Linked DNA regions of Homo sapiens: all the other regions are linked to region 1. Evidence: promoter capture Hi-C in 16 types of primary human blood cells and fetal thymus (Javierre and others, 2016). All regions are on one chromosome and are shown on one strand. The core of a region is centred on a gene start or on the middle of the fragment in contact, and the rest is flanking DNA. Distances in the headings are between cores, read along the strand shown. Region 1 holds the start of CDH23 (cadherin related 23). Region 2 has its middle 19 kb from the start of LINC03139. Region 3 overlaps CDH23 (cadherin related 23). Region 4 overlaps CDH23 (cadherin related 23).

What was found. The method cuts DNA at HindIII sites, captures the fragments that hold promoters and counts their contacts. A CHiCAGO score of 5 or more calls a contact.
Region 2: a fragment that was not itself captured here is called in contact with the fragment with the promoter of CDH23 in region 1 in 7 of 17 cell types (naive B cells, erythroblasts, total B cells and 4 more); the score reaches 6.3 in naive B cells.
Region 3: a fragment that was not itself captured here is called in contact with the fragment with the promoter of CDH23 in region 1 in 3 of 17 cell types (endothelial precursors, megakaryocytes and M2 macrophages); the score reaches 7.0 in endothelial precursors.
Region 4: a fragment that was not itself captured here is called in contact with the fragment with the promoter of CDH23 in region 1 in 5 of 17 cell types (endothelial precursors, megakaryocytes, total CD4 T cells and 2 more); the score reaches 6.4 in endothelial precursors.

The regions. Positions count from the first base shown.
Region 1 is chr10:71,395,670-71,398,771 of GRCh38, forward strand. CDH23 (cadherin related 23) reads left to right here and starts at 1,251. Exons shown (of 70, transcript NM_022124.6): 1 at 1,251-1,649. RefSeq lists a silencer at 770-859 and an enhancer at 1,543-2,054. The HindIII fragment of the contact is 8,970 bases long and covers 1-3,102 here.
Region 2 is chr10:71,895,813-71,898,955 of GRCh38, forward strand. No RefSeq gene overlaps it. Among named protein-coding and RNA genes, the nearest start is that of LINC03139, 19 kb to the left of the region's middle. The HindIII fragment of the contact is 1,602 bases long and covers 795-2,396 here.
Region 3 is chr10:71,652,263-71,655,431 of GRCh38, forward strand. The region is part of intron 14 of CDH23 (cadherin related 23); the gene reads left to right. Among named protein-coding and RNA genes, the nearest start is that of C10orf105, 66 kb to the right of the region's middle. The HindIII fragment of the contact is 630 bases long and covers 1,044-1,673 here.
Region 4 is chr10:71,678,165-71,681,128 of GRCh38, forward strand. It overlaps CDH23 (cadherin related 23), which reads left to right. Exons shown (of 70, transcript NM_022124.6): 17 at 1,223-1,328. Among named protein-coding and RNA genes, the nearest start is that of C10orf105, 40 kb to the right of the region's middle. The HindIII fragment of the contact is 1,597 bases long and covers 556-2,152 here.

The DNA of each region.
Region 1 (3,102 bases), core at 1-2,500:
CTAGCACATAGCAGTGACTGTGAATGAATGAATGAATAATGAATGAGCGAATGGTAAGGAACTGGAGCTTTGGAACCAGATAGATTCTGGGTTCAATACCCGACTCCACCACAGGGGCAAGTCCCCAACCTCCTAAAGCCTGTTTCTCACTGTAAAACTGGGATAATGGCAGGGCCCACCAGAAAGACTTTATTGAAGATAGAATGAGTTGAGGCCCAGAAAGTCTCAGCCCAGAGCCTGGCTCCAGGCAGGTACTGTCAATGTACTGACTGGAACAGTGACAGCTCGGAAATCCTGTCATGTGAGAAATAGTTTTAAAAAATCAGAATGCTTAGCCCCGGGGAAGTAAAGATCAAAGGTAGGGGATAAACCTCTTCCATTACCTGCATATGGACCCTTTCTTGATCCAGCTGTCTCAGAAAGCCATAAAGTCTCTGTCCCTATAGGTGTGCAAAAAGGAGCCGGGAGACCATGACTCGGGCACTGCAGACGGAGCTCCCGCAGGGGTGAGGGCGCCTAAGTGACCTCACGGGTCTCCTCCAACCCGGGGTCCTCCATTTCTAAGCACTTGGAGGCCTCTTGAGCTCTAGTGAGGGAGGAGGCGCAGATGGGAGCGCACGAGTCGGGTGGGCAAAGGCAGCTGGTTGGAGAGAAGCGTAGGCCAAGAGGCCCCAAGGACTAGAGGGACTGCTCAGCGACTCTGGGAGCAGAGAGGGGGCGCTTAAAGCCAACAGATGGCGCGGGCTCACCTAGGCCGAGCGCCCGCTCGCCCGCCCGGGCTTCCCGGGAGCGTTACCTCGCTCTGCCTGAGGCGCGGGGCGGACGAGACGCTGGGGGCCCCATCCCCCTGCGCGCCCCTCTGCGGGACGGCTGGCGGCCTGGCGGGGCACTGCTCTGTCTCGCACCTGGGGCCTCTTCCGCGGGCTTCCTCCCTGCCCCTTTGGGGGATTCGTAGAGTTGCCACAGCAGCCGGTGCCATGACATCGGCAGAGGGCAGCTTCGCCAGCACTGAAATATTCATGCCCTGAGCGCCCGGCGGGGCTCGGCGCCGCTCCCGGGGGTCCGGGCGGGGCCGGGCGGGAGCTCGGGGGTCCTGGCGGCCTGAGGGGTGGGGGAGCGCCGAGCGCGGGCGGGCGGGCGGGGGCCGGGCGAGGCGGGAGGTGAGGGAGGGAGCTGCGGGAGGCGGGGTCTGGACGGCGGGGGCCGAGCGGGGCGGGGGCCGAGCGGGGCGGGGGAAGCAAGGGAAAGTTGATCGCGGACTTGAGCGGCGGCGGCGGCTCGGGAGAGAGGGACGCGGGCTGCAGGCGCGATGCTTGGCTAGAGGACGCGTCCGACGGCGGCCGGACGCTGAGGTGGTCGGGGCTAGTCAGCCCGGCCTGGGCATGGAGCGCGGGGTGGCAGAGCCTCTGGACGTTTGGGGCGCGCCCAGTCCGAGCCCCCGGCGCGCCTGAAGTTGCGAGCGGCGAGCGGCGAGCGGCGAGCGGCCCGCGGAGACCCAGGAGCTGCCGGCACGCCGCGGATGAGCCTTCGCGCCGGCGGGAAGACGCGGCGGTGGCCAGGGCCAGAGCAGGCGGCCCGCGGGGGCCGATCCGGCGGAGAGCAGAGCCCGAGGCGAGGCGAGGCGCGGCGCCGCTGCACACACGCACACGGTACCCGGAGCCACGCACCGCCTCTTCCCTCCTCGCTTCCCTCTCCTTCCCCTCGCCGTTCGCCCGCCGCGCGGCGGGGAAGTTGGTGGTGACCGCGGCTGCCGAACCACTTGTTCCCAGCGCGGCCATCGCCCGTGGCGGGCGCTCGCGGCATCCTTCGGTCCCAGGCCCCTGGCCCTAGCCTCGCGCCCCGCTCCGAGCTCCCCGACGCGCGGCAACTTTGATTCCTGGGAACTCGAATTCCATTCGCGTTGGCCTTGGGAGGACAGGCATCCCATCCCCCATCCCCGGTCCTGGGACCGCGAACATTTGGGGGCTTTGCTCTCGGCGCTACGGAGAGGGTCCAGGTCTGGGGTGGAGAGATTTTCGAGAGTGGAGCGCGTTGGGATCCAATCCCCTCCCCTTCTGAGCCCTGGGTCCCCATTTGGACAGTGGGGATGGGGTGGGGCGCACCCCTACTGCGGGCTGGGCAGAGGCGCTGAGGGGAACTAAAGGCACGTAGTTCTCCCCTCCCCTCATCAAGTCCCTGTGCCCGCGGGAGACCCCAGGGGACTTACACATCCTCCCAAATTCGGTCCAGCTATGGGAAGACGCGCCCCTCGAGGAGCCGGGAGCCTTTTGCGGCTCTCGCTTCGCCTTCCTGGCCCTGGAACTGGTCCGCTACGAGCGGTGCTGGCTGCCCCCAGGAGCTGGCACCCGGGAGCACTGCCCCTCATCTCCACCGTAGGTCAGCCCAGGACTCGAGCAGAGCCCGCGTGTTCCAAGGCAGTGACGGCGCCAGCCGGCGGGGACTCTGCCTGGCTTTCTCGGAGCGGGCACCTAGAGAGGCTGCCTCCGTGCTGTGAGCGGAGATCCGATGCCAGCCGCCGCCCCACTGCGACCCCAGCCCCAGCCCTAGTGCTGTCAGCGGTCCACTGGGAGGAAATTAGCCTTTCCTCGGTAGTAATACTCCCCCATCCTCCCTAGTAATTCAGAAAGCAGAGCCTTCTTTTTCTACGTCCTTTGCCCTCTCAGACCAGAGCTGGCATTGACATTGACCTCGCCTTCCAGCCCCTTGGGAAGTGCCCCAACCCTAATTTGGATTTTGAAATAAGCTAGAGAGACACAGGAGTGTGTGTGTGTGTGTGTGTGTGTGTGTGTGTGTGTGTGTGTGTGTGTTGGGTGGAGTCAGACCCTCACACAGGGAAGAATTAGGTTGTGGGGTGTGGGGTGGGGCGGGCTTTAAGAACCTAGTTGGGGCCAGTTGCATGGTGATGATGAGTCAGCCCACGATGGGGAGAGCTGGCTTGGAGTTAGTGCTTGGTTCGTGGTGCAGGGGTAGGCGCACTGCGGTCAGCACCTACAGGGGTGGGGGCACTAGATGTTACTCTGCCAAGGAGGAGCTGGGAAGGGGCCCCTTGCCTGGGGGAATAGCAAGGCTTGGTTCTGGCTGCCAGGGCTGGGGAGGGCAGGA
Region 2 (3,143 bases), core at 346-2,845, 500 kb after region 1:
GTTTCAAAATAAAAAAATAAATAAAAATTTTAAAAGCCCCAACATATTGCAACAGACTGAATGCAGAAGTAGACATGAGGCTCCAACAGTCTTTAATTAAGACAGTTGCTTGAGAGATTTGCAAAAGTGTAAAACAATGCTGTTTTTCTCACTAAATTTCTCTTTGTTTTGGAAATGAAGGTATTTTTCGTAAAAATATGTTTATGTTTACATGTAATGAGTTCATTATTACTTTTTGATAAATTAATAAATATCTGGGTCCTCAATAATTCTTTTAAAAATTTTTTTATAATTTAAAATAGAGATGAGGGCTGGGCTCGGTGTCTCGCGCCTGTAATCCCAGCACTTTGGGAGGCCAAGGTGGGCAGATCACTTGAGGTCAGGAGTTCAAGAACAGCCTGGCCAACATGGTGAAACTCTGTCTCTACTAAAAATACAAAAATTAGCCGGGCGTGGTGGCTCATGCCTGTAAACCCAGCTACTCGGAGGCTGAGGCAGGAGAATCGCTTGAAACCAGGGGGCGGAGGTTGCAGTGAGGGGAGATCACCCCCCTGCACTCCAGCCTGGGCGACAGAGCAAGACTCCTTTTCAAAAAAACAAACATGTAGCAATGAAGCCATTAAAATAATTTATTTTTTATTTCTTTTTCTTTTTGTATGAATCGACTTTGGATAAGAAAAAAATCTACTTTTTAAAGAGCTGGGTTTGTGTGGTGGGACACCTATTGGGTGCAACAATGTGGAGAACACTGCCCTCTGGCGGTCACTCCCAGTATAGTACCAGAGAGGTGGGGAAGCTTCCCTTGCTATTCTAGGACTGACCATGAGACGGCAGAAGAATACAGTATTTGCTTCTTTTCTATTTCTATTATACTTGCTTTTCTTTTTCTTTTCTATTTCTATTTGCTTCTTTTCTATTTTCTGTTCCTTCTTTTCTATTTTTTTAAATTTAAGTGTAGCTAAGGGGACTCACTATGTTGCCCAGGCTGATCCCCGACTCCTCGGGTCAAGTGACCCTCTCACCTTGGTCTCTCAAAGTGCTGGAATTATGGGCATGAGCCACCATGCCTGGCCTAAAACCCTGTTCCTAATCTCTAGGTTGGTCCTCAAAGCCTCACACTCAGCCGGGTGCCCAGGGATTGGGGCAGGAGTGACCTCACAGAGCTGCCCACAGTAATGATGCCTGAAGTGCTCCAGCTAGCAGGCTAAGCCTTGTCTTCTCTGCCTCCACAGCAACTCATAGCAGCCCTAGGGAAGGCCACATCCCAGACCCCTAAACCCAGAGAGACAGAACGCAGACCTGGGTGGCAAGGACTCAGTAAGTTATTGAGTGCCAAACCGGGCCACCACTGTGCTTGGCTTTAGGAAAACTTGACATCTATAAAACTTTTAATCTCTAGTAGGTGCTCAAAAAAGCCATTCACTCTTTCATGTAACCAAGAAAAGATGTTTGAGCACCTGCAAAGTGCCAGGCACTGTCCTAGTCACTGAGGACACAGTGAGAAGCAAAAGGGGCCCAGGTCCTGCCCACATGGGACTTATAATTTGGTGAGGGAACAAAAAAAATTTAGTCTCAAAAAACCAAAGTTTGGTTAGATGCTGTGAAAAAGGATGGGGTTCTTTAAGGGCACCTGAGAGAGGGGTCTTGTTTTTCCTGGAAGCCAAAAAGAAGCATAAAGGTTGATACGGTTTGGACGTTTGTCCTCCAAATCTCATGTTGAAATGTGATTCCTGGCTGGGCATGGTGGTTCATGCCTGTAATCCCAGCACTTTGAGAGGCCAAGGCAGGCAGATCACTTGAGGTCAGGAGTTCGAGGCCAGCATGGACAACATGGTGAATCCCCATCTATACTAAAAATACAAAACTTAGCTGGGCATGGTGGCACGTGTCTGTAATCCCAGCTACTCAGGAGGCTGAGGGAGGACAATAGCTTGAGCCTGGGAGACAGAGGTTGCAGTGAGCCGAGATTGTAGTGAGCCGAGATTGTGCCACTGCTCTCCAGCCTGGCTGACAGAGCAAGACTCTGTCTCAAAACAAAACAAACAAACAAAACTACCTCTTAACTTAGTCCCCTCGCATTTTTTTTTTTTTTTTTTTGAAACAGAGTCTCAGTCTGTTACCCAGGCTGGTGTGCATGCAGTGGCACAATCATGGCTCACCTTCCACCACAGACTACAAACATGTGCCACCACATCCGACTAAGTTTTTTTTGTTTTTTTTGTTTTTTGGGGTTTTTTTTTTTTTTTTTGTAGAGATGGGGATCTCACCATGTTGCCCAGTCTGGTCTCAAGCTCCCAAGCTCAAGTGATCCTCTCATTTCGGCCCCCTAATGTATTGTCATTCCAGCCATGAGCCATGGTGCCCAGCATCTCCTGCTTTTTAACTTTGTTTTTAAAAGCTTCTTGATTTTTGTTTCAATTTAATACTGTCTTGGCAACTTTTTAACTTTTTGTTGTTTAGTCTCACTCTCTTGCCCAGGCTGGAATGCAGTGGCCAGATCTCAGCTCACTGCAACCTCCACCTCCCAGGTTCAAGCGATTCTCTTGCCTCAGCCTCCCGAGCAGCTGGGATTACAGGTGCCCACCACCATGCCCAACTAATTTTTGCAATTTTAGTAGAGACGGAGTTTCACCATGTTGGCCAGGCTGGTCTCCAACTCCTGACCTCAGGTGATTCACCCATCTCGGCCTCCCAAGGTGCTGGGATTACAGGCATGAGCCACTGCGCCCAGCCCAATTCTGCTATTAAAGGACTCTGATGCATTCTTCAGTATGCCAATTGCATTTTTCAGCTCCAGAAATTCTGCTCTGGATGTTTTTTAATTATTTCAATCCCTTTGTTAAATGTATCTGATAGAATTCTGAATTCCTTCTCTGTGTTATTTTGAATTTCTTTGAGTTTCCTCAAACAGAATTCTGTCTGAAAGGTCAGAGCTCTGTTTCTCCAGGATTGGTCCCTGGTGTCTAATTTGGTTCATTTGGGGAGGTCATGTTTTCCTGGGTCATGCTGCTAGCAGATGTTCTTCGGTGTCTGGGCATTGAAGAGTTCAGTATTTATTGCAGTCTTCATTGTCTAGCCTTAGTTGTCTTTTTTTTTTTTTTTTTTTTTTTTGAGATCAAGTCTCACTTTGTCACCCAGGCTGG
Region 3 (3,169 bases), core at 109-2,608, 260 kb after region 1:
TTGGGAGGCTGGCAGCATCTTGGGCAGGGCCACAAGACATCCAGGGAGTCCCTGCAATCCTGTCTTACTATGAGCTGGTCACTCCTTCTCTGGGACTTGGCTTTTTTCCTATGAAATGGGAAAGTAGTGCCTGCGCAGCCTGCAGTGCTGGGTTGTTGGGAGACCCATTGCAGTGATGTGGTGTAAACAGGTAAGATTTACAGATGGCAGGAGTGGGTATTTTCATCACTGGCCTTCAGGGTCTCACCTGGCTGCCCACCAGCCCTTCGGCCTGTGGACAAGCCCAGCTCTGCCGCAGTGGACCCTGGACAAGACACCGGGCCTCAGTTTCCTCTTCTGTGAGCTGGGGGAGATAACCTGCTAGGAGCCTACCTTGGAGGATTGTTGTGAGAATCAAATGAAATGATTCATGAAGACACAGCACAGAGGCTGGCTAGGAACACACGCTGGAAATGTCAGCAAGTCATGCCTGGCCTCCTGGCTGAGCCTCCAGGGAGCACGGGCCCTGGGCAAGGACACCACCCTCAGAGCTGTGGCCCTGCCTCAGGCAGCCATGTGACCTTGGCCAGTCACTGAACCTCTGGGTCCCAGTGAGATGACTGGGCCAGGGGCTGGTTCAGGGCCTTCTGGGTTGGTGAGGCTTTAATTCCAATTTGCACTGTCCAAGGAGAAAGGGGAGCCATTCTTGCTGTTTAGTTTCATGCCCAGCAACATGAACGTGCCACCCACCCTGCAAGGGTCCCCACCCACCCACTGGCCTCTAGAGCCCGTCTCCTGCCCTACCCCTCCTCTCTCAGCTCCCATCTGGAAGTCTCAGGAAGATTCCCCAGGACTTCACTTCCCCCTCCTAGAGCTAACTGGCTTTTCCTCCTGGTCCAGCCCAGCCTCCCTCTCCTGCCACATCAGCAGACAGCCCTGCTGCATCAATGTCAGCCCCATTGCTGTTTGTCCCCATCTCTCCTTCCCCTCCCACCCACAGCATTGACCCCACAAGGAAAAGGTGGGTATGATGTCATTGCCCTGGGCTGGCCGTGTTGAAGGCAAGCTTCAATCCTGGAGGACTTCAAATGCAGCAGGCCTGTTCCACCAGCTGTAAGGCCACAGGGCCTCTCCCTCTGCTCTGTAACTGTCAGGACACCCCCAGCCTTCAGGCTCAGAGATCACCCCTGTCCCTCCATGCTGCTGAATCCAAGAACTCTAACATGGGTTCTACTCAAGGTGCTGGAAACCTAATAGCCCAGCCAGATGATCCAGGAAAGCCAGTTCACTGCCTGTCTTAGTCTTGGTGCTCCCTGGGGCAAACCCCAGTTCCTCCCTGGTCCCTCTGCCCCCAGCAGAAGGACATGTTGCTCTGCAACATCTGTGGAAGCCTCTCAGCTGTATCTATCTACTACTGCAGGAGGGAACCTTGCTATAGGAGCAAGGCTTTGGAACCAGAAACCCAGCTTCAAATTCTGGCTCTGCTGCCTGCTGTCTCTATGGCCCTGGGCAGGTGCTTAGCTGTGTCCTGACCCTCAGTCTCCAGAGTGTGCTGTAGAGAGAATAATAATAATACTTATCCCACAATGAAGAGAGACGGGGCATTTAAAGCACTTTGTGTATTAGAAGGCACTGGGTAAATGGCAGGTGTCTTATCTGGGAGTCGGTGGAACTTCAGAGAGCATTGGTATTTAAGCTTGGGTCTCTTGGTTCCTAGATTTTCTGCCTTTGGCTGTGACTTCCCTAGACTCTGGGTCCTCTCAGTTGGTGCGTTGGTTGAGTTTTTGTCTGTGCTCAACCCCGGGAAGCCAACACACTGAGTCTAGCCTCAAGGAACAGAACACAGAGAAAGGTTAAACAAGCTTGCAGGTGAGAACCAAGCCTCTTCGGAGGGACGCAGACGATAGTTGCTGCCAGGTGTGCGACCTGTGCGGTGGTCTGGGGACATGGACTCGGAAGGGCCCCAAACTTGGTGGAATGCTCTGCTGTCACCATCTTGAAATTCTGATAATTTCTGAACAGAGGCCCTGCGTGCTCATGTTACTCTGGGCCCTGCAGCTTACGTGGCTTGCCCTGGCACAGGAGTTTATCATTCTCTGCCCAAATAAACTCAGTGGCTCTCCACGGTTTTCATCGATCCCTACATTCAGTCAACAGTCAGCAAAGGCTGAAGTGCTGGGGCCTTCTGTTCCCACAGAGCTTGCTTCAGTTCTTATTGCCGCATAAGAAACCACCCAAACTTAGTGGCATAAAGCAATAGCTGTTTTTAATACAAATGGCTCATGGATTTGGTGGGTCAGGAATACAGAAAGGGTGCGGTAGGGAGGCCTTCTCTTTCCTTGGGATCTGAGGTGACTCGACCAGCTGGAGTCTGGAAACAGAGGGCCCGGAGGATCCATTCTGATGGTGTTCTCACCCTGCCACGACTGTGCCCTTGGCTCATTTGGCTGAAGGGTGAGTGCAGCCGGACTGTGGCCCAAGCACCCACATGTAGCCTCCCCACGTGTCCGGACATCTCCCAGCATGGGAGTTCTGAGCAGGCGCACCCCCAGGGAGGCCTCTGGGGGAGGAGTGTCCCAAGAGATCCAGACAGAAGCTGCGTGGCGTTTTTCAACCCAGCCTCCAAGTCACACTGCATCATTTCTGCTGAATTCTGTTGGTTTTAAGTCACCAGGGCAAGTCCAGATTCAAGGAGAGAGGACGTAGATCTCCCCAGCTGTCAATGGAGAGAACGTCCAAGAATTTACACACACGTAAATGTCATAGAAACACTCAGAGGTCACTTTTCCATACCACTTCTGAGCAGTCATGCATGAGCACAGTGCCATGATGCCACAATTTCCCTCACCTCCTCCTGGAGGGCACAAAAGGAAGCAGGAGAGCAGAAGGGAAACCTGCAAATCCCCTTTCCAGCCTGGGACGAGCTCTCCGTGACTGGGAAGTGAAAAGACAGTGATCCCTGCTGTCCCAGGCACTCCCTGGCCAGTGGAATTCAAGCCTTCTAGACCTGGGTTGGCCTCTGCAGCCTGGCCTTGAGCTGCTATTCCAGCCCTTGCCCCCATACCCCTCACACCCTTCTCTCCTGCCCACTCAGATCCTCAACACCCCTCAACCCTCAGCATTTTCTTGCCACGGCGTCTTTACTTGCTACTCACCTGCCTCTCCCTCCTTCCTATTGGAGACCATCAAA
Region 4 (2,964 bases), core at 104-2,603, 280 kb after region 1:
CATCTCCCTTAGCAAGGGCATTGAGTGGGGAGCAGTTCCCTGTGTCAGGACCTCCTCCAAGCCCTTTAACGACTGACTAGAATCAGGAAGTGCTGCAGCTGGAAGGAGCCACAGAGACCATGGAGTGCAACCCCATTTTACAGAAGGGGAACCCAGAGGGGAGGAGGCTTGCCCACGAAGACATAGTCGGGTAGCAGAGCCAGGTCTAGTCCCGGAATGCTATTCTCCAAGTGCTTCCTGCAGCAAGTCCCCCACTAGGCTTCAGTGACCTTTAACCAGAGACTTTTAAATGTCCCCCCTTCCCCATGCTGCCTACCCCAAGGGATGGGACCCAGAGCCTCCATTTGGAACTTGTTTCTGAAGCAGGTAGGGATGAAGGCAAGGCTGGAAGGGTGAGCACAGGGGATACCAAGAAGAACAGAACATGTGCCCGCCCAGCCTGGCCACGGCCCCCCGTACAACCCTGTCCTGCCCTGCCCTCCCTGCTCAGCTCCAGGTGTACCCGGAGTGGTGGGGACCACTGGAGGCTCTAGAGTGAGGGACAACCTGGAAAGAAGCTTATTAATTCAGCTCCCAGAGAAGACAGTCAAGGGGTAGAGGGATCCCTGGCCCCACTCCAGGTGCCTTCTTTCCTCCTTGCTTTCATGCAACATGCATGGATTAGACACCCACTGTGGCCAAATACTGTGTTGGCCTGTAGGTATGCAGCAGCAATCAAGAAACAAGGTTCCTGCTCACATGAAGCTGACGGTCTAAGTGAGGGAGGCAGAAATTAGATAAGAAATTACCACTGGGTGTAAGGGGACCAATGGGGTATGCAACCCTAGGGCCCTAACCGGCTCCGGGAGTCAGGGAGGGCATCTGCAGGTGGGGGTGTTCCAGCTGGGGTTGGGGGTGGGAGGTAATTGTGTCTCAGCCTCTGGGAAGGCCCGGCCTCTGCATTATTCCTGCGCCTCCCACCTGCCCTCTAGATTCCCCAGGCTGCCTCCACACCCAGCACATGGAGGGGAGCAGGGCGTCTGCTGGGAGCCAGAGTGCGGCCTCCAGTTGAAGCACAAGGGGTGCCTCCTGGCGTCCTGGGCCAGGACAAGACCCAGGGCTGGATCACCCAAAAAAGGAGCTGTGAACAGGGCCAGTCTTCCCCACCCTCCCAGCTGCCCACCCTCTTCTGGCCCCCAGTCTCCTGCAGGCTCACGGCCCTTGTCTGCCCTCTTCCTTTCAGGCAACAGATGAAGACTCCCCTCCCAACAACCAGATCACCTACAGCATTGTCAGTGCATCTGCCTTTGGCAGCTACTTCGACATCAGCCTGTACGAGGGCTATGGAGGTAGGTGTGGGGCAGAACTCGGGGCCCAGCCAGGAGGAGGGCTGGGGGGCTCTCTGCACTCACACCTCCCTTGTGGGGATGAGGCGGGCACTCCTTGTCTCCCTGACACTCTGGGCTACTCAGGAAGCTGCCCGGAGCACCTGGGGTGGAGCAGGATGTGGCCTGAGTCGCCCTTCCGTAGGGTCAACATCTGTGTCCCTCATCAGCAGGATCTCTCTCTGGTTCTTAGGCCATGGCCAGCCCTGCAATCGAGCCAGAAGTGTGATGTTAACAGAATCTCTGGGGTTCTCTGTTTCTTACCAAGGCTGCAGGCAGGTCCGTGGGATGGAAGCTCTTTAGCCAAGACTCCCTACTTTTTGGGCGGCCGTGTGGGACCAGGCACTCTGCACCATGCCCTGCTGCCTGCTGTGGGTCCCCATCCCTAGAGCCCTGGTAGGAAATAGCAGCAACCTCAAGCTCCAAGATCCCAAGAGAGACTATTTTGTTTTTCAGATAAAGCAGCTAAGGCCCAGAGACAGGGAGCAACTTGCCTGAGCTCACCCTGCAAAGCTGCTGAGCTTGGCACCAAGTCCCCGTGTGGTCTGGCCCTTGGTTGCCTTGCGAGCCTCAGCTCTCAGCAGCCCTTGCCCCACCAGAGTCCAGCCTCTTTGAACACTTTGACACTGTCTCCCCTTACTGGTGTTCACCCCCATGTCTTTGCAGAGTTTGTTCCTTCTGCCAGGAAAGCCCTTCCTCCTTGCCCCTTGGTCCTGCCTCCCTTTGGCTGTCCAGTGTGTAGCCCCTGGCTAGCTTTAAGGGCTCATTTAACACCTCCTCCTTTGGGAAGCTTCTCTGATTCCTGGAGCCTGGGTTAGGTGCCCCCAGGGCAGAAGGAATCGATGTGCGTTGAGTGACTCTGGGTCCAGTGGTCATTCCTCCCACTACCCCACAGTTAGTTCAGTTCAGAGAAATGCCACTGTAGAAATTGCAGTTCTGACCAGCGCGGTGGCTCACGTCTGTAATCCCAGCACTTTGGGAGGCCGAGACCGGCGGATCAATTGAGGTCAGGAGTTTGAGACCAGCCTGGCCAACATGGTGAAACCCTGTCTCTACTAAAAATACAAAAATTGGCCAGGCGTGGTGGTGTGCACCTGTAATCCCAGATACTCGGAAGGCTGAGGCAGGAGAATCACTTGAACCTGGGAGGCGGAGGTTGCAGGGAGCCCAGGTTGCACCACTGCACTCCAGCCTGGTGACAGAGTGACACTCCGTCTCAAAAAAAAAAAAAAAAAGAAAAAGAAATTGCATTCTCTATGAAATCTACATCCCTCTGTCTTTCTTTTTTTTTTTTCTTTTTCTTTTTTTTTTTTTTTTTGAGACAGAGTTTTACTCTGTCACCCAGGCTGGAGTGCAGTGGCTCGATCTCGGCTCATTGCAACCTCCGCCTTGTGGGTTCATACAATTCTCCAGCCTCAGCCTCCCGAGTAGCTGGGATTACAGTCGTGCCACCACGCCCAGCTAATTTTTGTATTTCTAGTAGAGATGGGGTTTTGCTAATGTTGGCCAGGCTGGTCTTGAACTCCTGACCTCAAGCCATCCTCCTGCCTCAGCCTCCCAAAGTGCTGGGATTACAGGTGTGAGCCACTGTGCCTGGCCC